2 separate regions of the Homo sapiens genome follow, and region 1 is linked to region 2. The links are contacts of gene promoters, found by promoter capture Hi-C in human tissues and cell types (Jung and others, 2019). All regions are on one chromosome and are shown on one strand. Each heading gives the region's core, a stretch centred on a gene start or on the middle of the fragment in contact. The rest is flanking DNA. Distances are from core to core; before and after follow the strand shown.

Region 1 (3,130 bases), core at 489-2,988, 220 kb after region 2:
CATGGTTTCCACCGAGGCACTGTTGGGGGCAGAGAATTCTTTGGTTGCCGGAGAGGACCACCTGGTGCAGACCAGACCTGCAGCTGCGGCTTCAGGGTAGGAGCATGGCCGCCTTGGTGTCGCCATCTGGCCAGTCCTTGTTCCTACAGTTCCACTCCCAGCCGTGTCCTCAGCTTGTACCCACTTGTTTTTTTCCTTCATGGAAGCTAAGGAGGGGACTGGGTTTGTTTGTCCAGATGCCACCAGTTGGATGACCGTTGCGGGTACAGGAGTGTCTTCACCACGCAGTGCCAGGCCAGGTCCCACCTCACATCTCTATTCCTCATCTGGGAATGCTGGCATCAGCAGGTTGATTCAAAACTAGGAGGTGTTGGGAAACCCCTTGGGCTGGAGATTTCGAACTGAGATTCAGATGAGAAAAAACATAGTGGGTGGGGTTCTGAGGCAGGAAGGAGACAGCAAAAGCTCCTGTCCTGACGCTCCGCTCGATAGCGGGGATCAACAGAGCGGCCTGGCATGGTTGGGGGCAGCTGCGCTGGCTGAACCCAGGTGCAAGGCTGGCCCTGGACGGCCTCTCCCACCTCTGGACACAGAGCCGCCCCGTGCCTCTCCATTCACCAGGCAAAACCACACCTGGAGTGGCGCGTTCAGTCTGGGGCATGTTGGCACCAGCAGGTGTGGATAAATCCAAGGGCTCCTTCGGAGGGAGGGCAGGGGAGGAGGGCTGGCAGGAGTATGGGGAGAAAAGCTGTTTGAAAAGATTGTAAAAGGCTGTGGGAGAATTCAGAGAGGGGGCGAGTGATGAAGGGAGGACCACGCAGCTCAGGAGCCACAGCCTGGGTGGCCTGGGCGGCAAGGGCAGCCCCCATTCTGCTGTTGAGTGGCTGTCTTGCCGTCTGCACTCCCTCGTCATACAGTCCTCCCTGTGCGTTAGCTCAGGACAGCCTGGCATCGGTGGCTCCTGGTGGCAGGTGCCTGTGACATGAAGAGCACAGAGGAAGACGCTGGCTAGATCCAGAGGCAGAGAGAGGAGGACATGAGGAGAAGGTGAGGGAAACTGAGGAACAAGGAGAGGAAGAGCAATTAAAATGATTCCTTGAAAGAAAAGGAGGTAAAACAGAAAACGTGGCGAGGGGTATCCTAGAAGGAGCAGAAAAGGAAGGAAAAAAAGGGTGAACATTGTCTTTCATTTGAAGGACTTGGAGTGGCACAGTCAAGAACGAGTCTCCAAACACAGTCAGTACTCAGAAAGCTCATCATTGGATTTGTAAATCCATTTCATCTGGGTGGACTGAAGAACGTGGTACCCTCTGAGGATGTCAGGGCCCATATTGTGGGAAAGTCAAGAGTGGCGCCGCAACAAACTAGCTAATCAGTTATGAACACGAGGGGCTCATGATTCATGAGCCTGCCCATCTATCTCGTGCAGGGTGGAGACCCATCTAACCGGAACCACCACCCAGCCTCTCCCAGCCTCCTTAGATGACAAGCTCTGGCATCCTCGGTCCACCCAACTCAGCCCCCAAGCATTTCGCCAAAACATCAGTAAGCAGGTATAGGTGAAGGAGGTCACAGGTGTCTCCATTTTGTGCCGTTTTCTCTCCTTCCCAGTGCTCAGCACACGACTAACCAGGGGTTCTCATCAGGGGCCGTATATTCACTCCTGAAAGGGTAGTCAGCAGGTCACCAAACACCTTCCTCTGAACTCAGAATAAGTTTATTTTTACTTAATTTTTTAAATTAAAATAAATTTTTTTAGGCCGGGTGCAGTGGCTCACGCCTGTAATCCCAGCACTTTGAGAGGCTGAGGTGGGCGGATCACAAGGTCAGGAGTTCAAGACCAGCCTGGCCAATATGGTGAAACCCCATCTCTAAAAAATACAAAAAAAATTACCCGGGCGTGGTTGCGCATGCCTGTAATCCCAGCTACTCGGGAGGCTGAGGCAGGAGAGTTGCTTGAACCTGGGAGGCAGAGGTTGCAGTGAACCGAGATCCTGCCACTGCACTCCAGCCTGGGCAACAGTGTAGGACTCTCTCACAAAAAAAAAAAAAAAAAAAAAAAAAAAAAATTCTGGGACAGAGTCTCGTTCTGTTCACACAGGCTGGAATGCTGTGGTGTCATCATAGCTCACTATAACCTCAAACTCCTGGGCTCGAGTGATCCTCCCACCTCAGCCTCCCAAGTAGCTGGGACTATAGGCCCTGCCACTGTATCTGGCTAATTTTTAAATATTTTGCAGAAACGGGATCTCACAATGTTGGTCTGAAACTCCTGAGCTCATGTGATCCTCCTGCCTCAGCCTCCCGAGTTGCTGGGATTACAGGCATGAGCCGCCGTGCCCAGCTAGTTTATTTTTATATTCTGTATTACTGTGGACCGGAAAATCCAAGAGTTTGCCTGTACCCTATGGGAAAATTGTCTCTCAGCTGCAACGTGCCCAGCGTTCTCAGCAGTCAGGGCAAATTCAACTACAGCAGCCACCGCCCATCTTACCGAAGCTAAACCAGACATGGATGTTATTATCTGCTGCATCCAGCATTTGTTTAGAGCTTTCTGCTTCACAAAGCAACTCATTATCTTAATCTTCACCATCATCCTACATTGCTCTTACTTCCACTTTATGAACAGTCAGTCTCAGAAAGCTAAGGCATCTTCCTCAAAGCAGCTGTAGGATTCAAACTGTGTGTCCGGGGACTCCAGATTCTTTGTGCTTTCTACACATTTAGATTTCATGGTAACATCAAAAATCAGGATTCCTGGATCTGGAGCAGTTTATTCCCTCGGCCTTCCTCCCACCCATTGCCATCCCAGCCCATTTCTATAACCATCAAATGGGCAATGTTTTTTTTTTTTTTTTTTTTTTGAGACATGGTCTCACTCTGTCACCCAGGCTGGAGGGCGGTGGCGCAATCTCGGCTCACTGCAACCTCTGCCTCCCAGGTTCAAGCGATTCTCCTGCCTCAGCCTCCTGAGTAGCTGGGATTACAGGCGCCCGCCAGCAAGCCCTGCTAATTTTTTTGTATTTTTAGTAGAGATGGGGTTTCGCCATGTTGGCCAGGCTGGTCTCAAACTCCTGACCTCAAGTGATCCACCCGCTTCGGCCTCCCAAAGTGCTGGGATTACAGGCGT
Region 2 (3,550 bases), core at 1,051-3,550:
AGCTGGGACTACAGGCGCACACCACCACATCCAGCTAATTTTTTGTATTTTAGTAGAGACAGGGTTTCACCATGTTGCCCAGGCTGGTCTCAAACTCCTGAGCTCAGGCGATCCACCCGCCTTGGCCTCCCAAAGTGCTGGGATTACAGGTGTGAGCCACCATGCCCAGCCCACACAAATTGTTTCTTTGTCTGCTGCTGGCAACAGATAGTGAGCTCCTTAAAACAGGAGCCGTGTCTCTTTCATCACTGGGAACCCAGCAGCCACTATGGACATGGCTCTGACCAAGCACTCAAGAAGCTGAGACCCATAAGCTTCCAGAAGAGCTGCGCTGTGCACATATGAATTCAGCATACAGGGCAAGCTCTGCAGTGGATTCCAGGAGGAAGACAGGACAGCATGAAGGTTACAGATACAGACTTGGAGTGAGATAGCACTGACGGTAAGTTTTCATTCATCAAGCAACTCATTTATATTCTCTGAGCCATAGCACCTTTGTCTGTCAAATGGGGATAAACAATATCTACCATGTGGGGCTATTGTGAGGATTAAATTTAATGTGTATGGGCCGGGCACGGTGGCGCATGCCTGTAATCCCAGCACTTTGGGTTGTCGAGGCGGGCAGATCGTTTGAGATCAGGAGTTCGAGACCAGCCTGACCAACAGGGTGAAACCCCATCTCTACTAAAATACAAAAGAAGTTAGCTGGGCGTAGTGGTGCACGCCTGTACTTTCAGCTACTTGGGAGACTGAGGCAGGAGAATTGCTTGAATTCAGGAGGTGGAGGTTGCTGTGAGCTGAGACCATGCCACTGCACTCCACCCTAGGTGACAGAGCAAGACTGTGTCTCAAAAAAAAAAAAAGAAAGAAAGAAAACAAAATGTGTATGAAGCAATCCTCAATAAATGATGGCTGATAGTTTAATTTTGGTAATAACCCTAAAGGGGGGTTCCAAGATCAAGAAGAGAATAATAATGCCAATTAACATGTATTGGCCAGGCATGGTGGCTCACACCTGAAATCCCAGCACTTAGGGAGTGCGAGGTGGGTGGATCATTTGAGGTCAGGAGTTCAAGAGCAGCCTCGTCAACATGGTGAAACCCCGTCTCTACTAAAAATACAAAAATTAGCTGGGTGTGGTGTGCACCTGTAGTCGCAGCTACTAGGAAAGCTGAGGCAGGAGAATTGCCTGAACCCAGGAGGCAGAGATTGCAGTGAGCCAAGATTGCACCCCGGCACTCCAGCCTAGTGACAGAGTAAGACTCTGTCTCAAAAAAAAAAAAAAAAAAATTAGCCGGGGTGGGGTATGGTGGTGGGTGGCTGTAATCCCAGCTACTCAGGGGGCTAAGGCAGGAGGCTCACTTGAACCTGGGAGGCAGAGATTGCCATGAGTGGAGATCATGCCGCTGCACTCCAGCCTGGGTGACAGTGAGACTGTCTCAAAAAACAAAAACAAAAACAAAAAAACATGGGCTGGGCGCAGTGGCTCACACCTGTAATCCCAACACTTTGGAAGGGCAAGGCAGGCGGATCACGAGGTCAGGAGATCAAGACCATTCTGGCTAACATGGTGAAACCCCGTCTCTACTAAAAATAGAAAAAGTTAGCCGGGCGTGGTGGTGGGCGCCTGTAGTCCCAGCTACTTGGGAGGCTGAGGCAGGAAAATGGCATGAAGCTGGGAGGTGGAGGTTGCAGTGAGTCAAGATCGTGCCACTGCACTCCAGCCTGGGCGACAGAGCGAGACTCCATCTCAAAAACAAACAAAGAAACAAACAACAACAACAACAACAAAAACCATGTATTATGCTGTTAATATAAGGCTTACATATCTTAACTTTTTTGATCCTGTGGGCTAGGTATTATTATTCCCATTTTACAGAGGAAGAAACTGAGGCACGGGAAAGTTCAGCAACAAGCCCAAGGTCACACACCTACTTATGAGGGAGTCAGGCAGTCTTCACCCCAGAGCCAGCTGATCTCTAGATGGGACTGAAGACTGGACCACTTGGACCATTTTCTTTCCAACAACAGGGCTAAAGTAGCTGATGAAGCCATGGCGCCCCCATGGACTTCTTTGTCCAGCTTTGCCAGTGACCTGTGAGGTCACCTTGGTCTAGTCCTTCCCTTTTCTTGACCTCGGTTTCCTCATTTACAATGAAGGAGTTTGACACAATAATTCTTGATTCCGAACTATAGCCCAGGAAGAGGCATTTGGGAATGAGGCCCTGGCCTGCTGGTGACATCATAGAGGGGAGAGTTCCACGAGAATAGTCAGGCCTTTCTGGAAGCCCAGTGCCACAGTCTGCATTGAGCTTGGCTCAGGAAAGAAGGGAAATCCAGGCGGGGCCTGTTGGGCCCAGGTCTTGAGCTCTTTTGGCTCCAGAGTTCCCAGCACAGTCATGGATCAAAACTCAGTGCCTGAAAAGGCTCAGAATGAGGCAGACACCAATAACGCAGATAGGTTCTTTCGCTCTCACTCATCACCCCCACACCACAGGCCAGGCCACAGCAGAGCTCTCCACCATTACGAGTTGCACCATCACGGCGTGCCCCACCAACGTGGTGAATCTCACCACCCTCCGGAGTTCCAAGACTTCCACGACCAAGCCTTGTCCTCCCATGTCCACCAATCTCACCACCACAGCGAGGCACGGAATCACGGCAGAGCCCATGGCCCCACAGGCTTTGGTCTGGCTCCCTCTCAAGGCGCCGTCCCCTCCCACCGTTCCTACGGTGAGGACTACCATGATGAGCTCCAACGTGATGGCAGGAGGCATCATGATGGGTCCCAATACGGTGGGTTCCATCAGCAGAGTGACTCCCATTACCATAGGGGGTCTCACCATGGCAGACCCCAATATCTCGGTGAGAATTTATCCCACTATTCCTCTGGCGTGCCCCACCACGGTGAGGCTTCCCACCATGGTGGGTCCTACCTCCCCCATGGACCCAATCCCTACAGTGAGTCCTTCCACCACAGCGAGGCTTCCCACCTTAGCGGGCTCCAACACGATGAGTCCCAGCATCACCAAGTCCCCCACCGTGGCTGGCCCCACCATCACCAAGTCCACCACCATGGCAGGTCCCGTCATCATGAAGCCCACCAGCATGGAAAGTCTCCTCATCACGGAGAGACCATTTCCCCTCATTCCTCTGTGGGGTCCTACCAGCGTGGGATATCTGACTATCACAGCGAGTACCACCAAGGTGATCACCACCCCAGTGAGTACCACCATGGCGACCATCCCCACCACACACAGCACCACTACCACCAGACCCACCGGCACCGAGACTACCATCAGCACCAAGACCACCACGGCGCGTATCATTCCAGTTACCTCCATGGCGACTACGTCCAGAGCACTTCCCAACTCTCTATCCCACACACATCCCGGAGCCTGATTCACGATGCCCCCGGCCCTGCTGCTTCTCGTACAGGAGTCTTCCCCTATCACGTAGCACACCCACGGGGCTCGGCTCACAGCATGACTCGGTCCTCCAGCACAATCCGCTCACGTGTCACCCAGATGTCCAAAAAAGTCCATACCCA

What was found. The method cuts DNA at HindIII sites, captures the fragments that hold promoters and counts their contacts. A contact is called where the count stands out against the background at its distance.
Region 1: a fragment that was not itself captured here is called in contact with the fragment with the promoter of CATSPER1 in region 2 in 1 of the 25 tissues and cell types used here (spleen).

Annotation. Positions count from the first base shown.
Region 1 is chr11:65,806,624-65,809,753 of GRCh38, reverse strand. All of the region lies in intron 3 of LOC124902693, which reads left to right. Among named protein-coding and RNA genes, the nearest start is that of OVOL1-AS1, 17 kb to the right of the region's middle. The HindIII fragment of the contact is 6,595 bases long and covers 1-3,130 here.
Region 2 is chr11:66,025,229-66,028,778 of GRCh38, reverse strand. CATSPER1 (cation channel sperm associated 1) reads left to right here and starts at 2,300. Exons shown (of 12, transcript NM_053054.4): 1 at 2,300-3,550. The coding sequence starts at 2,400. The HindIII fragment of the contact is 11,043 bases long and covers 1-3,550 here.